Linked DNA regions of Homo sapiens: all the other regions are linked to region 2. The links are contacts of gene promoters, found by promoter capture Hi-C in blood cells and fetal thymus (Javierre and others, 2016). All regions are on one chromosome and are shown on one strand. The core of a region is centred on a gene start or on the middle of the fragment in contact, and the rest is flanking DNA. Distances in the headings are between cores, read along the strand shown.

Region 1 (4,255 bases), core at 518-3,017, 430 kb before region 2:
TTCACAGAGCTGGGTCCTTCATATTCTCTCTTCATAAACGCATTCTCTGATACTCAAATCTTCAGTCCTCATACTCATTACTCTCCCTCATAACAACCTGTTATTTTCCCAAAGAGCACTTACAAAAGCTTCTGAAGTAAATCGATGTGTTTACTTACTTAAGATTTATCTCCCCTATGAGAGCAAGAACCATATCTATTTGGTTCAGTACCAAAAACTTAAGCATCTAAACAATGTCTGGCATATATTTTTTGAATAAATGAACAAACAAACCTCATATTATATGACAGTTTCTTGATAAATGCTACAGTGGAAATTAAACAAGGTACACTATGAAAACAAACCTGACTGGAGGAATAAATGAGTAGATTATATATCTGAGTCTTGAGAATTTTTTAAGAAAACTTTAAAATTTCAAAGAGTTAACATTAATTGTTCTTCATTTTGGTTAGAATCACTACACAGGTCCCACTGCATATCAAATGAATCAAAACCTCTGACACTGGGGCTTATGCATACATATTTTTTAAGCTTCCAAGATAACTCTCATGCAAGAAAAACTCTGAGCCAACAAAAGAGAATGAAAGACCATATGCCAAAGAAAGAGACCAGCTTGAACAAAAGCACAGGAATCAAGAAAGGACACTGCATGTTGGGGAATAATAATCAATCCAATAAAGGCATGGAGGGAGAGGGGGTATAAGAAGATGAATTATAGGCTGAGGTGGGCAGATCACCTGAGGTCAGGAGTTTGAGACAAGTATGTGCAACATGGTGAAACCTTGTCTTTACTAAAAATACAAAAATGAGCCAGGCATGGTGGTGCACACTTGTAATCCCAGCTACTTGGGAGGTGGAGGCAGAAGAATCGCTTGAACCCAGGAGGCAGAGGTTGCAGTGAGCTGAGTTCGCACTCCAGCCTGGGTGACAGTGAGTGAGACTCCATCTCAAAAAATAAAAAAAAATTTAAAAATTAAAAAAAAAGATAACGAATTATGAGAGACAAGTTGAGGGCAACTTGTGGAGAATTTTAAATGTCTCTATAGGAAAAACAGATGTTATCCTGTAGATTGATGAGAACTTGAATGATTTTTAAGTAAAGGAGAGGGAGATATATAGAGCTTAGAAAAGTAACTTTGGTATTGAGACAGATTACAGTAGAAAGGGTCTAGAAACACGAAAACCAGTTAAGAAATTACCTTAATAATCCATATTTTTAAAATACAGAGAAATAAAGGAAAAAAGCAGGAGAGGAATATTTCTAGAACGAAAGATTCTTAGTATCTGCTTACAGGTTAAACACAGCTAGCACAGCAAGGGAAGAAAGTTTCCAGAATGGACAATTACATAATTTAAGATACCATTAAATGACAAAAAGGGCACAAAAGGAAATATCATATGGACAGATAGTTTTTAAAAGTTAATTCAGAACCTGAGAAAATTCATGTACCTACAAGGGGATCTACATGAATAATCAGACCTGTTAGAAATTTGAACCGGGACAACATGGTGAAACCCTGTCTCTACAAAAAATACAAAAATTAGCCAGGTGTGCCGGTGCACACCTGTAATCCCAGCTACTCGGGAGGCTCAGGCAGGAGAATTGCTTAAACCTGGGAGATGGAGGTTGCAGTAAGCTGAGATGGTGCCACTGCACTCCAGCCTGGCAACAGAGAGACTCCCTCTAAAAAAAAAAAAAAAAAAAAAAGAAAGAAATTTGAACCTAGTAAGATTGTAACAAGGCTGTAAGTCATCTGCATTTAGAGAATGGCTGAACTAACAAAAGAAAGTATAAATCTACTTAAAGAAACACATACGCTTAAGTGGTAGATGGAAGACAGCTTCACAATAACAAAGAGCAGGCTTTACTGTCCCATTTCTCTTTCACTTTGTTTTTAAAAGGTCAGTAAACAGACTGAGAAATTCAAATATTTTTAAATGAGCTGACCAAGTCACGCAAGTAAAAAAGAAGCAGAGTCAAAACTAGAACCCAGGGCTTCAAAATATGTCTACTACAAAATCTTGTCCAGCATGATTACTGGTATAGAATAACAGGCTGGAACTGCATGGTGTCTATTATCAAAATTTTAGTCAAGTCTTTAGTTTAATAGGGTCAGGGGATTCCATTTGTCTGGACTGCCCAAGGTTTCTGGAGACCCATCAAACCAATGCTTATAATATTATATATTATAATATACATTATATAACAACCACTGGAAGGTTTGTGGAATTTATACTTGTTTTGTCCTTGGAATCTTGAAAGTGTAATATTGAGGACTATCCTACTCCTTGAAAGAAAGAAGCATTAGGCAACTGATAACAAATGAAACAATAAAGATGAATGTGGAGACTAATGAAGTTCCGAAGACTGTTCACAATAGCAACAGGCTGGAAAAATCTGATAATAATGAATTCCAAACTGCCTAAGAATGAAAATTACTGTCTCAGGTCAGTTTTCATAAAGCTGAATTCAATTTGAAACAAAATTAAACACTGCACATTATATACAAATGAACAAACCAATATTTTCACAAGTCTTTTTCTTAAACACAGAAATTAACAAAAATATTTCCAACATACCCTAACTTTACAATGTGATAAAAGCCCCCACATTGGCTGTGCACAGGCCTCAAGTTCAGCAGCAAAGGCAGCATAGTAGGTCTGAGACTCAAATTCCACATGCTCGTTTAGTTCTCGCTTGTTTAAGTTCATACCTGGCAAAAATTAAAGCAGATATAAACCTTGTCAAGTGGAAGCACACATTCATGTTAAATATCAAGTACATTTCCCAGTCCCAAACACATTTATGCACACAAATAGCATTACTGACACAGTACATATAGAAATAAGTAAATTACTAAAAATGAAACAATCTAGTCCTTTCAGAATTTTTTACAAACTAGGTTTTCTTAGAAACATTTTATGAATTATCTCATGTAATAAACTGAATATCTTTTGATAAGAAAGTCAAAAAAATTTTAATTGATGTTAGTTGAAAGCTTTACGTGTTACGAATCTTTCTCAGACAATAGATTTCACATTTCTAGATTAATGGTTACAAATGCTTCAAAGCCAGGCACAGTGGCTAATCCCTGTAATCCCAGCACTTTGGGAGGCTGAAGCAAATGGATTGGTTGAGCCCAGGAGTACTAGACCAGCCTGGGCAACATAGTGAGACCCTGTCTCTACTAAAAATAAAAAAATTAAGTTAAATTTGTTTAAATGCTTAAAAAGTTATACTCCTGTTTCTTTTTCAATCATTTGACATTTTTCCTAACTCCTTGGTATGTTTTATGAACAATTTATTAAAGTACTTACAAATACCAATTAAAATAATGAGCTATTTCATGTGTAGCGTGAATGATGTGCTATTGTATTTTAATTGATATTTAATAATTTAGCATTAGGAATTTTGTAAACCAAAAAATTAACAAAGGGATAAAATTCATACCTTGAAAGAAAGATACAAAGTTCATCCATGTAACTAACAAACCGTGATCCTCCAAAAATCTCTTGGCCACACTTTGATGAGAAAGAATATTAATAAAATCACTAACAAGAGGCCAGTAAGTGTTATTCTTCAGTAATGCTTCTCCACAGTTCACTACCACATGTAAACTATTTTCTTCATCTAAAAAAAGACACACACAACCCAAAAATTTCATAAGATTTTTTTAAAAAGCTTAACCAATAATACAGAATATATATACTTTAGAATCAGATATACCTAAATTCAAACCCCAGCCTTCCATTTAATACCTATATGGCTTTAGGCACAATATTTACACTCTCTGAATCAATTTCTTCATTTATAAAGTAGAAAATAAAAACATCCATCTTAAAAGAATTACATGAAGCATTAACAAAAGTACTTAGTATATCATTATAGTAATTATTACCATATGTCCAATATATGACATGATACTGAGGTAGCTGTATGTTTATAAAACCTTATTTTCTTGATTCTAATGATATAATGCAGTATTTTCTGTTGAAATCAATAAAAAATTTTTATCCCTAGATTAATCTCATTTCATCTTATCAACCAAATCTGTATGATTTCAAGAGATGTACATTTAATTGCTTTCTTCTATGCAAAAAATACATCAATACAATCTTTAGCAAACAATATTTCAAAGATAAAAAACACACATTTAAAAAAAAGAAACACACACACACACCAACTTCTTAAGCCTTGAAAAAAAAATCCTCAAAGTTTAAATACATCATTGGGGGTGGTGGGAGGATAGGCTTG
Region 2 (4,125 bases), core at 1,125-3,624:
AACCAGACTATGGAGAACTCAGAATGCCAGTCTGATAGGTTTAGGCCTTATCCTGTGCACAGGAGAGAACCTCCAAAGGTTTCTGAGTAGAGGAAAGGACATCAGGAAATTATAGAAGGAATGGTTAAAGAAGAGCTGTATGAAAAGCATCTTTGGAATTTGACAAATAGATACAGGTGACAAAAGGAAATAAGAGCAGCTTGCTGACAGACAGAATACATTCTACAGTGTCCAAAAAAAAAAACCTAGCAAAATATCTAAAAGAGCCTTCTAATACACTCTTCATAAAGCCAACTCAACTACCTATTGAAAATACAGATATGACCATATCATTTCCCTGCTTAAAAGCTTTCTATATCTTCCTGCTGCCTAGAAGTTGAAGTCCAAAATCCTGAGCTAAAAATGTTACAATCTGGCTAATTTATCTATTTGTACTTCCAACCTCTCTCTGCAGCAGACCCTGCCTTTAGCTAATGAGGTTACAGCTCCAAGACTGCTTCTAACGCTAAATTCTTTTCTTCTTTTCTGGAATACTCTCCTCCTGTCTACCCTGACAAGGCTCTGCCCATTCTTCAGGGAACAACTCAAATACTATGAATATTTATTCTTCTTCAAGGACTTCACCAGGTAGAATAAATTGTTCTGTTTCTATGAGTCTCAGCTTTTCGCTCATTTTTTCAGAATGGTATTTACCACATTTATTATAGTGGTTGTCTGTATGTATCTCCTGCACTAGAACGGGGGGATATGAATATCATTTCCTATTATTTTCTGTCTCTAGCTATCGGCCCAGTAACTAGCACGTAATAAAACATGGATAAATGTTTACTAATGTTACTGAAACGGACTTTTGTTTGGATTAAGAACCCTACAAGAAAGACAGAAAATGTCGCCGGGCGCAGTGGCTCACGCCTGTAATCCCAGCACTTTGGGAGGCCGAGGCGGGCGGATCACCTGAGGTCAGGAGTTCGAGACCAGCCTCAACATGGAGAAACCCCGTCTCTACTAAAAATACAAAATTAGCCAGGCGTGTTGGTGCGTGCCTGTAATCCCAGCTACTCTGGAGGCTGAGGCAGGAGAATTGCTTGAACCTGGGAGGCGGAGGTCGCAGTGAGCCGAGATCGCGTCATTGCACTCCAGCCTGGGCAACAAGAGCGAAACTCTGTCTCAAAAAAAAAAAAAAAAAAAAAAAAAAAAGAATGACAGAAAATGTCATAGAAAGTGCGCAATATGTTACTACAGTCCGTAATTTTACGAATTCCTTTCTCTTTCATCTTCTTAAAGGGTCTAACATGTTAGCATTAGATATCTAGCTATACTTAACCTGAGAAATTTATCAATATTTCATTTTTCCATCTAAGGAGGTGAGGTCCATGATAAGGAACGATTCCATCTAAGGAGGTGAGGTCCATGATAAGGAACGATTCCACCTAAGGAGGGGAGGTCCATGATAAGGAACGATAAGAAGTAGCTAAGAAGCTCCATGCCATTAATCCAGGAATCTTAGCTTTAGCGTTTCTCAACACTTAGTAACCCAACCGGCATTTCCCGCCCTGGATTTTGGAGTAGGAGGTTTCTAACCACTTTTTCTTTACGATACTTTCCAAAAACATGGTTTCTATTTAATGTATGATAATTTCCAAAAACAGGTTGCAAAAGAAGACTCCTTCTTGTTGGTGACTGATATGAATAACTAGATGAAAGCTTACCAAGGACATAAAGTTTGCGCGGTTAGTAATTTTTGACGACTGCCTTACTCCCACCTCCCTTATTTTACAGACATGAGGATTCTAGCTTGAATGATGAAGACATCTGCTCAAGGGCCCACACTGTGGGTCGATATTACACATCTACTTTTAGAACCCTAGTTTCCTGAGTCCCTGACCTACGTTCCTTCCATGAAACTGAAATCCCAAGCTCACGTGGGTGTATACGGGACGCTAAGCCCCGGGTGGCCCCGGTCGTGCTCAGGTTCACATTCCTGATCCGTCCCGCGGGCCAGGATGGGGGAACCGGAGGTCGCATGGGACCAAAACTGTGTAATGCCGATGCGCTCTTGCCGCGGCGCCGGCCTCGAGAGGGCCACAGTGGCCCAACCAGCCTGAGGTCTCTCGAGGCGCGGACGACCGGCGCAAGCCTCCCACCCTCACCAGGGCCGCGAGCTGCGGAGGTGCAGTCTCCGCCCGCGGGTCCCTAACGCGCACGGCGGCGCCCTCTACAGGGTTGAAGATCCCTCGGGAATCTTGGAAACTCACTGCGCGGACAGGTCGAAACGGACATCCCGATCCTCCCAAAGCGCATCCAGCACCGACATGGTGAACAAGGCCCGTGGCAGGATCTCTCCACAGCCGTGCAGGCCTAGCTGCGTCTCTCTGGCTCCAAGGCAACGGGCCGCCTCTGTCACGACGTCTACGGCGGGCGCCGAGACTCAAGCTTCCGCGAGAGTGCGCGCGCGTCGCCCAGCTCTTTCGCGTCGTTAAGCCGATTTGAGATGCGAGGCAGGATTTAGGAGTCTCTGAGAAGCCCAGCTGTGTCCGCCAAGGGGAGCGTGCCTGACCTCTGGGCGACCTTCCTTGCCTCCAAACAGACATCCTTTAGCCATTTTACCCCTCTCCTTATTTCTCTTCACCGTCAAGAGATTCAGGTTATTAGCCGGGCATGGTGGCTTCTGCCTGTAATCCCTGCAGTTTGGGAGGCCGAGGCTGGAGGATCACTTGAGGCCAGGAATTCGAGACTAGCCTGGGCAACATAGCGAAACTTCATCTCTACAAACACAAACAAACAAACAAAACCAACCCAAAATTAGCCAGGGGTGGTGGTGCACGCCTGCAGGCTCAACTACTCGGGAGGCTGAGGCGGGAGGATCTCTTGAACCCAAGAGGTGGAGGCTGCGGGGAGCTATGATCGTGCCTCTGCCCTCCAGCCTAGGTGATAGAGATATAGGATCAACAGGTTCGTATGCCTGCTGTGCAGTAACAAACCCATTACACGAAGACAGCAGAGTTTGCAGCAGGGAAAGAGTTTAATGATTGCAGGGCACCTAGCAAAGAGATGGGAAGAGATCCTCGAATCTATCTTCCCAAGAGTTCTGGGCTGAGGTTTTTAAGAGGATCACAGAGGGCGAGGGGCTGGAAAATTGGGGTCCTTGATTGGTCGGAGTAAGGGAGATGAAATCATCAGGATAGGGAAGCTGCATTCTTTGCTGAATCAGTTTCTCACGGGTTCCTCAGACCAGCTGGCATCAGTGGGATCCTTCAGGCCAGCTGAGGCAGTAGTTTCATTGGTATGCAGGATCTGAAAGACTATCTCAAAGGGAAAACTGAGTATTTCATAATGTTCAAGTTGTTCTCTATAGAGCAATAGAAGGGAACTATAATCTTGTGACAGGGTCTGCATGATTCTAGGACAATAGGCACCAAACAACTCTGAGCAAGCAGGTCAGAGAGGAAGCTGACCTCATGATTAATGCCGAATTGGCTGCAAGCTTGGTTTATTTTTGTCCCCTCCCCCACACTTTCTTCCCTGATTACTTTTATAAATTTTATTGGGATGGTTTTAGAATGAGGAAAAAAGAAATTTAGAGTTAAAGCTTCAAATTCCTTACCTGGGCCTAGCTCAATGTGGCCCTGCCTATGTCTGCAACCTCCAACCACCCTCACTTCTGGCTGCTCTCTTGCCAGACAGGGCTCAGAGACTTTGGAGGGCCCCCTTCCTTTGCCTGGAACACTGTTTCCCCAGACCTCTGCATAGGCCTGCCCTTTGTCACTTAAATCTCTGCTTGGGCTGGGCGCTGTGGCTCAGGCCTGTAATCCCAGCACTTTGGGAGGCCGAGGTGGGCGGATCACCTGAGGTCAGGAGTTCGAGACCAGCCTGGCCAACATGGTGAAACCCCATCTCTACTAAAAACCCCAAATTAGCTGGGCACGGTGGTGGACGCCTGTAATCCCAGCTACTCGGGAGCCTGAGGCAGGAGAATCACTTGAACCCGGGAGGCGGAGGTTGCAGTGAGCCGAGATCACACCATTGCACTCCAGCCTGGGCAACAAGAGCGAAACTCTGGCTCCAAAAAAAAGTCAAATCAAATCAAATCAAATCACATCTCAGCTCACATGTCAACTCCAGCAG
Region 3 (4,669 bases), core at 1,415-3,914, 390 kb before region 2:
GACAGTCTGTGCTCTCGTAATACCAAGCATGCAGTTATCGAAAGCAGAGTGCTTGGGAAAGGCGTATGAATGTTTTGTATAACAATACACCATTCAACAATTCCAAGTTTTATAACTTAAGCTGTATATTAGAAAATCCTAGGCGATACAACACAAAAACTTAAAATATCAAAAGTGAAAACATAGACATGATGGTTGTTACTGTTAAAGAAAGGGGATCACTTCTCAGCCTTGCGTTTAAAGAAAGAGACGTAGGGCCGGGCGTGGTGGCTCATGCCTGTAATCTCAGCACTTTAGGAGGCCAAGGCTGGCAGATCACCCGAGGTCAGGAGCTCAAGACCAGCCTGGCCAACATGGTTAAAACCCTGTCTCTACAAAAATACAAAAATTAAAATTAGCTGGGCATGATGGCAGGTACCTGTAATCCCAGCTACTCGGGAGGCTGAGGCAGGAGAATCGCTTGAACCCAGGAGGCAGAGGTTGCAGTGGGCTGAGATCACGCCACTGCACTCCAGCCTGGGCAACAGAGCAAGACTCTGTCTCAAAAAAATACAATACAATACAATACAATACAATACAATACAATAAAGAGAGGCAGAGCATAATTATCATGTCACACCAAAAGTTAGGAGACCTAGGTTCCAGTACCAACTCCAACATAAATTAATTGTGAGGTTTAAACAGGCCATTTCATTTTCCTAGGGCTCAATTTCCTCATCCATAAAACAAGAAGTTCTCTTGCCAGGCGCAGTGGCTCACGCCTGTAATCCCAGCACTTCGGAAGGCCAAGGCGGGCGGATCATGAGGTCAGGAGATCGAGACCATCCTGGCTAACACAGTGAAACCCCGCCTCTACTAAAAATACAAAAAATTAGCTGGGCGTAGTGGCGGGCGCCTGTAGTCCCAGCTACTCGGGAGGCTGAGGCAGAATGGCGTGAACCCAGGAGGCGGAGCTTGCAGTGAGCCGAGATTGCGCCACTGCACTCCAGCCTGGGCGACAGAGCTAGACTCCGTCTCAAAAAAAAAAAAAAAAAGAAGTTCTCTTAATAACTTCCAGCTTTAGCATTCTATGAAAATTCTACAATTTACCTTTAAGTTCTAAAAGACTCAATTTCTTATCATTATAGTAAGATATGAAAACTATAAATTTCTTCTAACATTTTACTCACCAGAAGTCAGATCTTTGTAGTTTTGTTGGTTTGTCAAAACCTGAGTAAGAACAGACCGCATTGCTCCTCCCATTTTAGTCAGGTCTTCTAAAAAGGAAATTTGAGGTTCCAAAAGCTGAAGGACTTTGTTAAGGTCCTTTTCTGATGGTCCATCAGCTGCTAAAAGAAAAAAAGAAAAAAAATCAAATAAGGGTAATTTTGTTTAAAATATCTTACTAAAAATAACAGTATTTATTCTTTTAAAATTATAATGGCTTAAATTATAGTATTTTATAATCAAAAAAGTCAATACAAGAACTCTGTTTAGAAATTGGTATCTGCCCAGCACCTAGCCAAGCAAGGGTAGACTTGCTCAGGAATTCAGTCCTTTGGAAAACAGTAGATGGAAAAACACAGATGACCTCCTAAGATATGAAGCACTTAATTTGTGTAAGAAGCATTTAAATACAAAAAATTAACCAAGTGTGGTGGTGCGCGCCTGTAGTCCCAGCTACTCAGGAGTCTGAGGCAGGAGGATGGCTTAAGCCTGGAGGTGAAGGTGGCAGTGAACTGAGATCATGCCACTGTACTCCAGCCTGGGCAACAGAGTGACACCCCATCTCAAAAACAACAAAAAGAAGCAGCAGCATTTGATCTGTGGGCCCTATACTTCCACATATATAAATGTCATCATAAGATCATTTCAAAAAAAGATAGTATTTAAGAAAAAGTTTAGATCACATCCTAGAATAAAACAAGATATAATTCAAATACATTGAGAGTAGTATAAGAGTATTATGTCAAATTTAAACCTGTATAACAAATAACCTATCCCCTATAATATTCCAAAAATACAGATACATGTTAGCTGAAGGTCAAAGCAACTAAAGTGAAAGATAACTTTTCATAAATATGAATAATTGTATTAAAAACTAAAAAAAAAACAGGCAAATAGAGATGGAGAGAAAGAAAAGCTTGGACAACAACTGAAAAAGAATATTAAAGACGAAAAATATAGAGAGGTTTTACAGAAGCCGAGGTCTAAAAGGAAGGAAATGAATAAAGAGATGTATAGCTTAACCATAATTTTTTTAAAACAAAAACAAACAAATGAACAAAACCACACCTATAAAAGAGGTAATGGAGAACCTGTGTGCCCAGGAAAGGGGATGTCCATTTCATTCAACATTTATTCAGAATCTCAAAACCTACTTTCTCAGTGTAAAGCTAATGTTATATATTATTCAACTTTATATTCTCCCCAGTGACTTATATAGTAATATAGTAGATGTTTAATTAATGTTTGCTCTTGGTTTTCAAGGGCTCTGAAACAAACTCTAACACAGATATAAGGATTATTGGATGAATGAGAAACAGAATTGAAAGAAATTGGGAAACCACAAGATCTCTGAGTTTTCATTACCTTGGATTGGTTATTGCAAGACCTTTCTTTAATTTCTTTAATTTTAAACAGTAATCTCTACACAAAAATGCAGAATTTTGGCTGGGCACAATGGCTCACACCTGTAGTCCCAGCACTTTCAGAGGCCAAGGCGGTGGATCATCTGAGGTCAGGAGTTTGAGACCAGCCTGGCCAACACAGTAAAACTCCATCTCTACTAAAAATACAAAAAATTAGCCGGGCGTGGTGGTGGGCGCCTGTAATTCCAGCTGTTTGGGAGGCTGAGGCAGGAGAATCACTTGAACCCAGGAGGCGGAGGCTGCGGTGAGCTGACATCGCACCACTGCACTCCAGCCTGGGCAATAAGAGCGAAACTCCATCTCAAAAAAAAAAAAGGCAGAATTTTTTTTGCACAGACAGAAATTAATGCTGAACAGAAGTAGTAATATAAGGAAGAAACTTCCATGAACCTACATTCATGCAGATCATCTTTAGATAAAAAATGCTTCCATTTTTTCCTTCGTGTTTTCAGATAACAGATAATTATAAAGCTATGTACTTACGTTGTCTACATTTTATAACTGTTATGTCAACAACAAAAAATATAAGACACTTTCATGTGAAGTACTCTTTCATTAAACTAATGATAAGCTTTAAGGTTCTCATAATAAATAATTTCTATTTCTAAAATAGGACACCTGTAATACAAAACATAAATTCCCAAAAAGGTCTCCTAACTAGTATATAAGAAATAATGCATAAGGCAATTTCAATAACCCAGCTAGTAACTGGTTCCTTCATTCCGAAGAGACAGTAATTTGAAACCAAATCAAAATAATATTTTTCTTTATATATTCTTTTTTCTGTTCTTTTTTTTGGGGGGCGGTGTGGGGCACAGGGCACACTCTCACTCTGTCACCCAGACTGGAGTGTAGTGATGTAATCATAGCTCACTGCAGCCTTGAACTCCTGAGCTCAAGGGATCCTCCTGCCTCAGCCTCCCAAGTAGCTAGGACTACAGGCACATGCCACCACCACACCCAGCTAACTTTTAAAAATGTTTGTAAAGACAGAGTCTCTATGTTGTCTAGCTGGTCTTGAACTCCTGGCTTCAAGCAATCCTCCTCCCTCAGCCCCTCAAAGTGCTGGGATTACAGGTATGAAACACCATGCCCAGCTTATTTTTCTATATTTTAAGATATATACTCTGTTAAGTAGAAGTACTTAACAAAGGATTGTATATTTTTGCTTAAAATGTACAAATAAGGAAGTATAATGGTTTGCTCACAATAAAGATAACAAGACAGTTTTAGAAATGAGGACATTATATAACATTCCCCTACACTTTAAGGATGGAGATAGAAGATGAAAATGTGTGCCACAGTTTCAAAATGAATATAAAATTATTTATAGTACTAAATAATTTTAAACCTCTAAAAATAATGCAAAATGTAATCTCTTATAGAACAGAAATTCAAGTATCATTAGAAAGGTAAAAAACATCATAAAAAGTTAATAAATTTGATTCATACTACTAATGAATATCTGTAACTGACAATGTCAGACTGAGAACTTTTAATAGATACCTAAATCCAAATATTTACCTAACTGAAGTATGTTAATCAAGATTGTGATTAAATCTTAAAAAGTAAGAAGAACATCTGTAATTTTCTCTTTTAAATATTAACATGATGATTACACACCCATATATTCTACCAGTAATCTGGAAGTCAGCAATTTGACCCTATCATAAGTTATTATATAATATATAGAGAGAATAAAAATATATACAGACTTCTAAAAAAAAGTTGATAAAACATTTTATCTTCTAAAAATCTAAGTTAAATTTAAACATTTCCAGGAGTTCTCAATTCTGCTTTATCATAATATTGCAAATAAAGTCACGTTAACCCCACAAAATGGTTACTTCCTCATCTGCAAAAGCTCAAATAAGTTTGATCAAAAACATTTATGACCCCGGAAGCAGAAAGCACGAAACTACATCTACTGCAACATATAAGGTTATATAATTAATTTTTAGTGTGTTTCTATTCAATCCGTATTTTATAGTCATCTCTTTTTAAATGTTAAACAAAAAAAGATATCTAAAAAAATTCAC
Region 4 (4,326 bases), core at 1,327-3,826, 450 kb before region 2:
TTAAGCAGGGCATGATGCCTTACACCTCTAGTCCCAACTACTTGGGAGGCTTAGGCAGGAGGCTCACCTGAACCCAGGAGTTTGAGACCAGCCCAGGCAACAAAGACAGACCTCATTTCCCAAAAAAAGTATTAAACAAAAAAAGTACTTAAAAGTAAAAACATGAAAACTAGATTTAAAGATTAATGAGGCTGGACACGGTGGCTCATGCCTGTAATCCCAGCACTTTGGGCAGCTGAGGTGGGCAGATCACTTGAGGTCAGTAGTTTGAGACAAGCCTGGCCATCATGGTGAAACCCCGTCTCTACTAAAAATACAAAAATTAACCAGGCGTGGTGGCGCACACCTGTAATCCCAGCTACTCGGGTGGCTGAGGCAGGAGAAACACTTGAACCCAGGAGGCGAAGGTTGCAGTGAGCCAAGATCACGCCACTGCACACCAGCCTGGGCAACAGAGTGAGACTCAGTCTCCAAGAAAAAAAAAAAAAAATTAATGAGCTATTGATTTTGAAGAGACCCACTTTATAAGTCTTTTTTGTTTATAAAAGATTTTCTGCTCCTTTGCTAAAACTGATAATTTGTCTTCTTACCTTCTGCATAATTAGGAACCACTATCTTGTGTGTGGAATGTGTACAACTGATGGTTCACAAGATGATTTTAAGTATTAAGTATATAAAGCTTTTCATTTTAATAATTATGTAATTATTTTTAATGTGTATAATGTATATTAGAAAATTGTAACTTGCAAATAAAATTCATGACACCTCACTAATAATCACGCTTAGGAAGAGGCAAGGTTTTTTTTAAGTTAACTCATTTTAAAAAATAGTGAAATACTAAGTATATTTCAGTAGAGAGGCTATTTAGATGTGGCAAAAATCTAAAGGATAAACTGAGATAATAATTTTAGAAACCACCGCCTTAAGAGTATCTCCTTAATAGATTTTTTTCTCTCATTCTCTCTAGCAAAATTCTTAACATTTGAAAACATGGTAAGAAGCTTAAGCTTCTCCCTAACCATCCACTATAATTACAACCTTCTAGCACAAGACACTGTTAACCATTGTTAACCACTGTCCCTAGTTTCATGTAACAAGCTATTCATCTTAAAGTATCAGAAGTATGACTTAAAATTCTGAAGACAGTCCTTCACAAAGATCTTTATTAGTATTTCTAGAATCATTTATCGTCCTTTTTTTTTTTTTTTTTTTTTTTAAGACAGATTCTCGCTCTGTCACCCAGGCTGGAGTACAGTGGCGCGATCTCGGCTCACTGCAAGCTCCGCCTCCCAGGTTCACGCCATTCTCCTGCCTCAGCCTCCTGAGTTGCTGGGACTACAGGTGCCCGCCACCAAGCCCGGCTAATTTTTTGTATTTTTAGTAGAGACAGGGTTTCACCATGTTAGCCAGGATGGTCTCAATCTCCTGACCTCGTGATCCACCCACCTTGGCCTCCCAAAGTGCTGGGATTACAGGCGTGAGCCACTGCGCCCGGCCTTGATCGTCCTTCTCTTTAAAGTCTATTATTTTGCATAATTAACATGCCAAAGCTTTTATCAGAATTGCACAACCTTAGCAATGGAAGAAAACTTCAGTGATTAATTAGTCCAGTGGGCTTCAAACAGTGTTCCATGGAGCTGAATTACCACAGATGTATAACAGGGGCCACTTTAGGAGCAAGTAGATAGCAGGACAGAGAAGAAGCTAGGTTCACTACCCACACCCACTTTAACAGGAGTAAGCCAGCTTTTGTTGGTTTTATATTAATATGACAAATTCACTTAAGGCTTAGTCCCCGAAACCAGAGGCTTGTTTCAACCACTTTTAAAAGTTTAAAAACTTATTTTACAGATAAGAAGCCAAATCCAAAGATAAAAAAACTGGCTAGGCATGGCGGTTCACACCTGCAATCCCAGCACTTTAGGAGGCTGAGGCAGGAGGATTGCTTAAGCCCAACAGTCGAGACCAGCCTGGGCAACACAGCAAGGCCCTGTCTCTACAAAACACATGAAAATTAGCCAGCATGGTGGTGGGTGTCTATGGTCCCAGCTACTGGGGAAGCTGAGGTGGCAGGACCACTTGAGCCCAGTAGGTCAAGGGTGCAGTGAGCTATGATGGCGCCACTGCACTCCAGCCTGAGCGACAAAGTGAGGCTCTGTCTCCAAAAAAATAACAAAAAAAAAAACAACTAATTTCCTAAACCACACAACTAGCAAATATAATTCATATGGTATTTAAATATGACACTCAATTTCCTTGCTCTAATCTCCGAATGCCCAGTATTCCATCTCAGCATTGTTCAGAACAGTCATCTAAACAGCTTGTTTTAAAAAGCAGATTCCCAGATTTCACCCACAGAGATTCTGATGATAGCAGATAGGAGGTGAGACACAGGGGCCTGCATTCTTAATGAGGAGCGCAAGTGAGTCTGACAGAGATGTAATCGTCACATCACACTTTTATAAGCACTGCACTACACCACAGCACCACTCCACTCCCAAATTCATCTAATTTTACACACAAAATATCCTCTACACTAAAAAAATACTGTGCTTTTCTTTTAATGGAATACTTTCCAACCAGAGACTGGATTTTCTTGCTCCTTGTGAACTCCCTGAAAAATCCCAAATAAGGCTTTTCTGTTCTGCTTTGCCAAACACACACAGTACAGTGTATATTATTTACAACTTCAAAATGGGCATTGGTTTTTCATTTAGACAACGTGTTGAGGGAGTCAAGAAGCACGTAACTGCTACTTCCTTCAAAATTTTCACTTAGAGAAGTGAAAATATGAAAGTCAAACAAAAAAAGACTGTGTAAATCAAAACCTCACTTACTTCTGGCTGCTGTCAAGGATGTCAACTATGAATCTATGCGGGAGAAACCTTCCAAAACCAATCATCCACTTAAGGAAAACGTTCTGTGCATTTAACATAGGTTCAAAATGTAAGTAAGTGCTATCAGCATTCTATGTGGACTTTTTTTTTTTGAGATGGAGTTTCACTCTTGTTGCCTAGGCTGGAGTGCAGTGGCCACGATAGGGTCTCACTATAACCTCCACCTCCTGGGTTCAAGTGATTCTCCTGCCTCAGCCTCCCGAGTAGCTGGGATTACAGGCACCTGCCACCATGCCTGACTAATTTTTTTGCATTTTTAATAGAGACGGGTTTCATCATGTTGGCCAGGATGGTCTCGAACTCCTGACCTCAGGTGATCCAGCCACCTCGGCCTCCCAAAGTGCTGGGATTACAGGCATAAGCCACCACACCCGGCCTATACAGACTTTAATTTGAACTATTTCAAGTTAAAATTTGGGTCGTGAGGATTCTTTTGCTGTTTCAAAATCAAATTTGGAGAGTAAATACATTCAAAATATTTTTTAATATACATTTTGTTTTATAGTTTCTGGTTCATTTATGGTTATGATCACTTATAAAAATGAATTAGAGTTCAAATATAAATTTCCTTTATAGTTTAGAGTCATCTAAGAAGTCTTAGTGTAACATAAAGCTATAGATTTCTAAGTAATTGAAAGCAGTATCACTGTTTACCAATAAAGACATACATTTATAACAAAATGGAGAAAAGAAAACCAAAGCTTGAACGAATAAAAGGTAAACATTTTCTTTTAATACACAGAAGAATTCACCATTCAAGAACTGATATTTGAAAGAGTCCATTTATGTATATAAACATACCTTTGGGAGTATACATGCCTTGTTGCATAGAACCTCCAGGTTCAAAAACAGGAGCCTTAAAATCAGCTACAGCTGATAAAACTGATTCAAAGCTGTAACTGCCTGGAATAATGCCACTTTTGGGATTAGGATTTTCTGGAATATGATATATATGTCAAGAAAAAAATATTAGTAACAAAAAGCCAGATTTATAGCCTTTCCAAGGTACTCTAGTTTCTCATTTTGCTGAAGTAGACAAATAGTAATTGGTTGTAATATACAAAGCTGGCCACAAGAGGGCTATATAATACAACAGATCAATAATAACTGTTTTTAATTGTGATTTTTGAAAATATGTTTAATCTAGGAGCCTACTAATAAATTGTATGCTGCAGTAGTTCCCAGGTATATTTTCCCCGAAATAAATTTATCAAATTTCAGAAAACGATAGAAAAACTTTTAAAAATGTGTCTTCATTTTTACCATTTTGTAAATAACTTTTCCTTAAAAAACAGAAAGAACTTGTGAAAAATTAGCCAAGATTTTTATGAGCAAAGATTGTTTTTCCAAAAACACAAAATTTCATCCCCAAAGAAAAAAATACTAAGCAAATATAAGCAAAGAGGCAAACCAAAAAGATTCTCTCCTC
Region 5 (4,251 bases), core at 1,643-4,142, 320 kb before region 2:
AGTGGTGGTTCATGCCTAATCCCAGCACTTTAGGAGGCTGAGGTGGGTGCATTGCTTGAGTCTAGGAGTTCAAGACCAGCCTGGGCAACATGGCAAGACCCCAGCTCTCCAAAAAATAAATAAATAAATAAAATAAATAAGAAATAGAGGTACGTGCCTCTAGTCCCAGCTCAGGAAGCTGAAGTGGGAGGATTGCTTAAGCCTGGCAGGTTGAAGCTGCAGTGAGGCATAATTGTGCCACTGTACTCCAGCCTGGGCAACAAAGTAAGACGCTGCCTCAAAAAAAAAAAAAAAAAAAAAAGTTAAAGTAAATGTTTCTCAAATTTAAGCATAGAGGAACTCTCAATATACAAGCCAAGGAAAAACCCAAGTATGACTATTTGGAATGCCAGAAGTAACATAAAAAGTAAAAGACAAACAAATTTTGTCAAGAATTCTTACAAACAAAGAAGAAGGGTAAAAAGAGAACACCCTAATAGAAAACAGTTAAAGGATATTTTATTGGCCTCGCACGGTGGCCCAAGCCCATAATCCCAGCACTTTGGGAGGCTGAGGCGGGTCAATTTCTTGAGGCCAGAAGTTCGACAACAGACTGGCCAAAGTGGTGAAACCCTGACTCTACTAAAAATACAAAAATTAGCCACACATGGTGGTGCACGCCTGTAATCCCAACTACTCGGATGGCTGAGGCACAAGACTAGCTTGAACCCGGGAGGTGGAGGTTGCAGTGAGCTGAGATCACCGCCACTGTACTCCAGCCTGAGAGGAGAGCAATACTGTCTCTCTGTCTTAAAAAAAAAAAAGACACTATTTTTCAGGGATCGGGTCTTGCTTTGTTGCCCAGACTGGAATGCAGTGGTGCAACCACAGCTCACTGCAGCCTGAAACTCCCGGGCTCAATTGATCTTCCTCCTCAGCCTTCCAAGTAACTAGGACGACAAGCACATGCCACCATGCCCAGCTAATGATTTTTTTAAAAATTATAAAAAATAGGCCAAGCGCAATAGCTCATGCCTGTAATCCCAGCACTTTGGGTGGCCGAAGCAGGTGGATCACCCGAGGTCAGGAGTTCGAAACCAGCCTGACCAACATGGTGAAACCCCGTCTCCACTAAAAATACAAAAATTAGCCGGGCATGGTGGTGTGCACCTATAATCCTAGCTACTTGGGAAGCTGAGGAACCTGGAAGGTGGAGGTTGTGGTGAGCCAAGATCACGCCACTGCACTCTGCACTCCAGCCTGGGAGACAAGAGTGAGACTCCATCACAAAAAATAAATAAATAAATAATGTACTGTAAACTAAAAAAAAAATCCAACCTCATTTCATTGTTAATCAAAGAAATACAATTTAAAGCAACGAGACAGCATTTTTCACCTAACAAACTGGCTAAGATTAGAAAGAAAACCAAGACTACCTAGTATTGACTTGAACACAGAGAACTAGCCATTCAGGTAGATGTAAACTGACAATTATCAGTGTTTTTTAAATGTGCATAATCCTTGAGCCAGTATGGCTCCTTCTAAGAATTTTCCTTGAAGAAATCAATAAACATGTTTACTAAGATTTATATATAAGAATATTTGTCAAAGAATGATTACAGCTAAAAAAATTAGAAACATCCTTCATATTAAAGAGGAGAATGAAAAGATTATTGATTACAAAACTTTTCTCCACAAAAATGCATCCTATATTTAGCGGGGGAAAGGGAAGGAAATAAAATTGTTAGAAATGTACCACTCTGGTGGGGGATGTTTTAAAAGGTGAAGGCACTATGCTTGTGTGGAGGCAGGGGATATATGGAAAATCTCTGTACCTTCTGCTCAATTTTGCTGTAAACCTAGAACTGTTGTAAAATATAAGGTCCACTAAAAAAATTAGTATGAGCATGAAGCAAAGTGTCAAAAGCTTTTAACCTTGATAACCTCAGAAGAGTAGGATTTGAGAGTTAGCAGGTTGTGGGAGAGATACAACCTTTTCTATATACATCTTAGTATTGTTCTAAGTATTAAACACAGAATGAATAATTTCTAATTTTTCTCCTCATAGTCATAAAGAAATTAATACCAAAAAAAGGAACATGAGACATTTTAAATGCAGAGACGTGCAGCTTAAAAAAAAAAAAAAAGCAGTTCTGAGAATTGCAGAAAAACCCCACACCAAACAATATGATCTGAGGGGTTCTTAGCAAGAACCTAAGTTTAGAGATAATTTCCCATGCAACCATTATCGATATTGTAAAGATTTTAAGGTTTTTTTCTTTTTGAGTTTAATTGAACAAAGAACGATTTGCAAATCAGGCAGCCTCCCCAGCCAGAGTATGCTCACGAAGACTCTCAAGTTTCTTCCCCTCGCCCCCTGAAACAGTGTCTCGCTCTGTCATCCAGGCTGGAGTGCAGTGGTATGATCACAGCCACTGCAGCCTCTACCTTCTGGGCTCCATCAATCCTCCCACCTCAGCTTCCCAAGTAGCTAGGACTACAGGTAAACTGCTAACACACTCAGCTAATTTTTAAAATTTTTTTGTAGAGATGGGGCCTCATCATGTTGCCCAGGCTGGTCTCTAACTCCTGGACTCAAGCCATCCTCCTGCATCAGTACTGCAAAGGTACTACGGATCACTTGAGGTATTACGTTAACATAAACATAATACCTAAATTTGAAAAAATGCTAAGAGGGTTTTGAAAACAGATACTATATTAAAGTTACTGGCTGGGCACAGTGGCTCACACCTGTAATCCCAGCACTTTGGGAGGCTGAGGTGGGCAGATCACCTGAGGTCTGGAGTTCGAGACCAGCCTGGCCAACATGGTGAAACCCTGTCGCTACTAAAAATACAAAAATTAGCCAGGTGTGGTGGCGTGCTCCTGTAGTCCCAGCTATTTGGGAGGCTGAGGCAGGAGAATCATTTGAACCCAGGAGGCAGAGGCTGCAGTGAGCCAATACTGTTGTAGTGAGCCAGGATAGTGCCACTGCACTCCAGCGTGGCCAACAGAGTGAGACTCCATCTCAAAAAAAAAAAAAAAAAAAAAAACTATATTAAAGTTACAATAGCTGAGAACTGACTGGGCAGAAAAAAACTAAGATCATCAAAAATATAGTGTTATTTAACAGGGAAGGTACTTTACCAAGGACTTTTATGTTACTTATGTGTCAGGAATTCTTCTAAGTACTTAACATTATATTCACTAATCCTCCAAACTACCTTATGAGGAGGGAACTACTATTATTCTCATTTTATATGAGACTATGAAGCTAAAATTTTATATGAGACTATGAAACTAAAATTTTAAAAAGATTAAGTAACTCTAGTTTATAGTGTTACCTTTTGAAATGTTTGTACATCTTAAGTTTCACAACCTGGCTCCACCAATATAAAACTGTATGCTATTATATGTTCATCTAAGAATCAAAGGCAAACCAAATGTTGAATATGTCCATGTACTAGAATTAAATGTTCTTTCTGTATTTTCTTTCAAGGAACTTGTTTTTGCAGTTTATAGCACAGGAATCATACCTCAATTTGATGACAGATTTTGGCCTCCAGGGCAGCCATCTTTTCATTATCACCATTTTCAGCCATTGCGGCTATCTGTAAAATTTCCCAAATTAGCATAAAGTTATTTTTTATATAAAACTCAAGAATAGAAAGATAATGTTTACAAAGTATTAATATCCCGTTTTCTTAAAAAATCAAGAATTTCTATTTTCACGGGTTCAGTTTCTTTACTCAGTTCTCAAATATCTCAACAAAGCAACACTTTGGAATAAGTGATGAAAAAATCTAAAAACTATAAAAAACTTGTCTTTCAGTAAATCACTACCCCATCTTCTATAACAAGAAACTGTTTATCTTCACTTAGCTGGTCAAGCAAGCTTTAGGGAAAAAAACTCCAATCACTTACCAACCATTTCCAGTTTTAAACAGATAACTATCTATCTGTATATTACCATGGCTCTCTGTGCATTTGTTTGGTATGGGTTCACCTCTTTTTTTTTTTTTTTTTTTGAGACGGAGTCTCGCTTTTGTTGCCCAGGCTGGAGTGCAATGGTGCGATCTCGGCTCACTGCAACCTCTGCCTCCCAGGTTCCAGCGATTCCGCCTTCGCCTCCTGAGTAGCTGGGATTACAGGCGCCCACCACCACGGCTGCGGCTGACTAATTTTTGTATTTTTAGTAGAGACGGGGTTTCACCATGTTGGTCAGACTGGTCTTGAACTCCTGACCTCTGGCGATCCACCCGCCTCGGCCTC
Region 6 (4,567 bases), core at 2,036-4,535, 290 kb before region 2:
ACAAACATCATCTATTAGAGAGGTCGTAGCTGACCACCTTATATTAATAGTACCTCCCCCACAACGATTTTACTCCATCACCTTCATTCTGATTTTTTTTCATAAAACTTGTTACCAGCCAGACATGGTGGCTCACGCCTGTAATCCCAACAATTTGGGAGGCTGAGGTGGGCGGAATCACGAGGTCAAGAGATCGAGGCCATCCTGGCCAACATGGTGAAACCCCCTCTCTACTAAAAACACAAAAATTAGCTGTGCATGGTGGTGAGCGCCTGTAGTCCCAGCTATTTGGGAGGCTGAGTTAGGAGAATCACTTGAACCCGGGAGGTGGAGGTTGCAGTGAGCTGAGATAGCACCGCTGCACTCCAGCCTGGGGACAAAGCGAGACTCCATCTCAAAAAAAACAAAAAACAAAAAACAAAAAACAAACTTGTTACCACCTGATATCTTATTATGGGAACATACAAATTTTGTGGGGCCTGAAGTTTTTATAATGGGGGGGCATTTTTTAAAGAAACAAAATATAAAAATTGCAATTAAAAATTAAGTATGAGCTGGGCGCGGTGGCTCACGCCTGTAATCCCAGCACTTTGGGAGGCCGAGACGGGCAGATCACGAGGTCATGAGATCGAGACCATCCTGGCTAACACGGTGAATTAGCCAGGCATGGTAGCAGGCGCCTGTAGTCCCAGCTACTTGGGAGGCTGAGGCAGGAGAATGGCGTGAACCTGGGAGGCGGAGCTTGCAGTGGAGCCGAGATCACGCCACTGTACTCCAGCCTGGGCGAGAGCAAGCCTCCGTCTCAAAAACAAAATAAAAAAATAAAAATAAATAAAAATTAAGTATGAAAGTGAATATTAATGTGAAAATAAATCATAAATTGCTGGAGTCTTGGAGCTTCAGTTCTTCCTTCTAGGATTTATTTAGGCAATTTACTAGAAATGCTTATGTAAAAATGTGTAGTTGTTGCAACCTGGCTTCCACTTGCCACCTAGAACATTCTATGGCCCTCAGCAATTACCAGCCCTCCCTGGGGTATCACAGTAAATCTGACTCTGCATATTAAATATCAATTTGCTTGTTTGTTTATTGTCAGTCTGTATCAATGGAATGTCTTAAGCTTCTTGAGAGCAAAGATTTAACCTTCTATGTTGCTTTATGCCCAGTGCCCACAACAGGAGTAGGCACGGGGGGCATATCATACATGCTTCTTTAATAAATTGTATCTGTCCCCGAAAATCAACTGGGAAAAAATAATCCTTCCTCCTCTCCCATTTTAGCCACTCTGTATTGTCATAGCTCTGTGTTATTGTCTTTTAGTACTATCACTTAAAAAATTAGCTTACTGCTTACTTTTTTTTCTTTTTAAGATAGGGTCTCCTCTGTCACCCAGGCTGGAGTTGTAGTGGCACAATATTGGCTCACTGCAACCTCCACCTCCTGGGTTTAGGCGATCTCATGCCTCAGCCTCCCAAGTAGCTGGGACTACAGGTGTGTGCCACCATGTTTGGATAATTTTTTTGTATTTTTACTAGACATGGGGTTTCACCATGTTGGCCAGGCTGGTCTCGAACTCCTGGCCTCAGGTGATCTGCCTGCCTTGGCCTTCCAAAGTGCTGGGATCACAGGTGTGAGCTACTGCGCCTGGCCTGCTTGTTTACTTGTTATCTGTGTCCCCTACTAGAGTAGGCCATACTAAGAAAAGAGAGTGTCTTGCTCCCATTTTCCCAGAGTTTTTAAAGCAAGGCACAGAGGAGGCTCTCAATAAGTATTTTTTTGAGTAAATGAAAATAAGGCAAATAAAAAACTTTTCACGATGAAACTTGCCATGTACTGCAACTCTCCTTGTACCTCTGTTTTTATTCTATTTATCTGAAAGTTTCATTTAGATACTCAATTATATGCTAATTTAATGAAACATAATTAAGTTTTAAAAAAAGTAAAATTATAATAATCACTTCACTTTACACCTTAGCTAAATAAGTACAAATGCATTTTGATTTGACAGAAAGATTGAGTAATTAATTTGTAACCATCTACTAACAAGATTTGAAAGATACAGGTACTTAATAGTACTTTCAGACACAGGATTTCTGCTCTGAATTTGCACTCACCCATGATTTCTGTGACTTTAGGGAGTATCAAATAGAAAATGCTCCTACGTACCAAGTTTTCTTCCCTGGAGGCAAAATAAAATAAATAAACTGACCAATTTCTTATATATTATTTCTGAAATATGCTATGAAGGTATTAGCAGATATTTATATATTTTTCTTTTTCTTGCACAATTTATAGCATACTATACTCACAATTCTGTACCTTTTGTTTTGTGATTCTGTTTTTTTAATATATCTTGGAGCTTACTAATATTTTTGGCTGCATAGTAGTCCATTGTGCAACAGTGTCTTATTTAAATAATCCTCTCTATGGACATTCAGATTGCTCTCAGTCTTTTGGTATTATAAACAGTGCTACAATGAATAACCTTGTACACATGTAACTTCATACATATGTAAGTATGTCTGTAGGATAAACCCGTAGATGTGTGTTTGGATCTTATAGCAATAAATGACACTCCTCATCCTCACCCAAATTCTAAGCCAATTAGGAAATAAGACAAAAGAGGCAGACAGGTGATTAAAATGTCACTTCATTACTGGTGACAGCTGATGTTGAAGCATGTTGCTTACATTTGCAGATAAGAGAGCTTCCCAATTCTGGATCTCTTTCCATTTAATCATAGGCAATGTTCTTCAAACATAGGTCTCCCCATGCAGGTTTTAGGAAGATGATGGGCTGAATGCGGCCTTCCCAGTTTATTCTTTACAAATTTAACAATTAGAGGAGTCACCCCTCCTTTCTTAGGGAGAAGCAAGTGAGGAGGAGAAGAGAGGCCAGCAGCATTAAACCAGGAGAGCTACTTCAGCCTGGAAGTACACATCAAGAAACATTCCCGCCCTAACAAAATACTCTCATGTTCAAAACGGTCTTCAATTGGTAATTGTAATATATTTTTCTCAGTTGTTCACCAGAAATGTGTCAATTTACACTCCTTCCATGAATATGCACCCAGGCATATAAGAAAAGTTAGCATTAGATAAATGTTTTTCAATTATCCTTGGTCTATTCATGTCTCACTACCCCAGAGGTTTTTCTTGAATTTTCTTACATTATTTTGAAATATAACACAGCAGAATTTTATTTTATTTTTGAGACAGAGTCTCACTCTGTTGCCCAGGCTGTAAGTGGAGTAGTGCGATCTTGGCTCACTGCAACCCCCGCCTCATGGATTCAAGTGATTCTCCTGCCTCAGCCTCCCAAGTAGCTGGGACTACAGGCGTGCACCACCACGCCTGGCTAATTTTTGTATTTTTAGTGGAGATGGGGTTTTGTCATGTAGGACAGGCTGGTCTCGAACTCCTGACCTCAAGTGATCTGCTTGCCTTGGCCTCCCGAAGTGCTGGGATTACAGGTGTGAGCCACCGTGCCCGGCCCAGAATTTTAATTATAGTGGCTTCATAGCATTTTAATGTCTGGCAGAGACTGTCAATTGTCACAGTATCCATTGCTCCCATCTTCCTGTTTGAAACCAGACTCTCTGAGCTTTCACCCAGGCCTATGGCTGTCCATCTTTGTGTGAGTCATTGTAGCACCCATGCATATAATTGTAAGGACTTTGACTTTAGCTCTGAGTGAAATGTGGAGTCATCGCAGGGATGTGAACAGAGGAGTGACATGATCATAATGTCTTATAGACTAACCTGTAACTATCTGCTCATAAGGAAAGCCTGGTAAAGTGCAAGGTGCTTCTCTAATCAAAGAACTGACTGCAAAGTAGCCCCAAGACTGGAAGTAAAGCTGCTCTACAAGTTAGGGACACTAGGCCACTGGAGAACTGGGCGAGTGGCTCTCCTTTCCCTCATCTTAAATTCTTCTAAATGTTTGGGGTTGTTTTGTTGTTGTTGTTGTTTTTGAGACAGGGTATTGCTTTGTCACCCAGGCTGGAGTGCAGTGGTGTGATCTCGGCTCACTGTAGCCTCAACCTCCTAGGCTCAGTTGATCCTCCCACCTCAGCCTCCCAAGTAGCTGGAACTACAGGTACACGCCACCATGCCTGGCTAATTTTTTGTATTGTTTGTACAGACAGGGTTTTCCCCTGTTGTCCAGGCTGGTCTTGAAATCCTGGCCTCAAGCAATCCACGCATTTGGGCCTCCCAAAATGGTGACTAGCCATGAGCCACTGTGCCTGACCTAAATATTTGGTCTTTACAGACAAGAAAGGAAACAGAAACGGGAAGGAGACTGATGGTTTCCGATCCTGATTTTATGAGCCAGGATGCTGTGCAACTTCCACAGATGTTTTGTTATATTTTTGCAGTCGTTTTCTTGTCAAACTTTGAGCTTCCTCATTGAAAAAAAATTTCAAAGTTTCATTTCATCCATTGTAATGGCCAATAACTTCTTTAAAATTTATGGAATAAAAGCACAGAGCTTCACAGAAGGTGGATGTCACTATGGAAAGATGTCCAGTTAGAACTACTTTTAAATATATTACAGCTACGCAAGA

Evidence for each region. Contacts are between HindIII fragments. The CHiCAGO score rates a contact against its expected background, and 5 or more counts as called.
Region 1: a contact is called between a fragment that was not itself captured here and the fragment with the promoter of BBS5 in region 2, in 2 of 17 cell types (total B cells and M2 macrophages). The highest score is 5.3, in total B cells.
Region 3: a fragment that was not itself captured here is called in contact with the fragment with the promoter of BBS5 in region 2 in 2 of 17 cell types (total B cells and M2 macrophages); the score reaches 5.6 in total B cells.
Region 4: a fragment that was not itself captured here is called in contact with the fragment with the promoter of BBS5 in region 2 in 13 of 17 cell types (naive CD8 T cells, total B cells, fetal thymus and 10 more); the score reaches 7.9 in naive CD8 T cells.
Region 5: a contact is called between a fragment that was not itself captured here and the fragment with the promoter of BBS5 in region 2, in 12 of 17 cell types (megakaryocytes, erythroblasts, M0 macrophages and 9 more). The highest score is 9.1, in megakaryocytes.
Region 6: a contact is called between a fragment that was not itself captured here and the fragment with the promoter of BBS5 in region 2, in 7 of 17 cell types (erythroblasts, M2 macrophages, megakaryocytes and 4 more). The highest score is 7.4, in erythroblasts.

The regions. Positions count from the first base shown.
Region 1 is chr2:169,904,490-169,908,744 of GRCh38, reverse strand. It overlaps UBR3 (ubiquitin protein ligase E3 component n-recognin 3), which reads right to left. Exons shown (of 39, transcript NM_172070.4): 9 at 3,452-3,631; 10 at 2,581-2,714. Among named protein-coding and RNA genes, the nearest start is that of UBR3, 79 kb to the right of the region's middle. The HindIII fragment of the contact is 2,468 bases long and covers 534-3,001 here.
Region 2 is chr2:169,477,743-169,481,867 of GRCh38, reverse strand. It overlaps BBS5 (Bardet-Biedl syndrome 5), which reads right to left and starts at 2,374. Exons shown (of 12, transcript NM_152384.3): 1 at 2,256-2,374. The coding sequence starts at 2,314. RefSeq lists enhancers at 2,101-2,440, 2,451-2,560. The HindIII fragment of the contact is 729 bases long and covers 1,707-2,435 here.
Region 3 is chr2:169,872,450-169,877,118 of GRCh38, reverse strand. It overlaps UBR3 (ubiquitin protein ligase E3 component n-recognin 3), which reads right to left. Exons shown (of 39, transcript NM_172070.4): 3 at 1,170-1,328. Among named protein-coding and RNA genes, the nearest start is that of UBR3, 47 kb to the right of the region's middle. The HindIII fragment of the contact is 1,079 bases long and covers 2,125-3,203 here.
Region 4 is chr2:169,928,241-169,932,566 of GRCh38, reverse strand. It overlaps UBR3 (ubiquitin protein ligase E3 component n-recognin 3), which reads right to left. Exons shown (of 39, transcript NM_172070.4): 18 at 3,699-3,840. Among named protein-coding and RNA genes, the nearest start is that of UBR3, 100 kb to the right of the region's middle. The HindIII fragment of the contact is 2,048 bases long and covers 1,553-3,600 here.
Region 5 is chr2:169,800,291-169,804,541 of GRCh38, reverse strand. It overlaps SSB (small RNA binding exonuclease protection factor La), which reads right to left. Exons shown (of 12, transcript NM_003142.5): 2 at 3,516-3,590. The coding sequence starts at 3,581. Among named protein-coding and RNA genes, the nearest start is that of SSB, 3.5 kb to the right of the region's middle. The HindIII fragment of the contact is 1,968 bases long and covers 1,909-3,876 here.
Region 6 is chr2:169,770,932-169,775,498 of GRCh38, reverse strand. No RefSeq gene overlaps it. Among named protein-coding and RNA genes, the nearest start is that of SSB, 26 kb to the left of the region's middle. The HindIII fragment of the contact is 4,325 bases long and covers 1,123-4,567 here.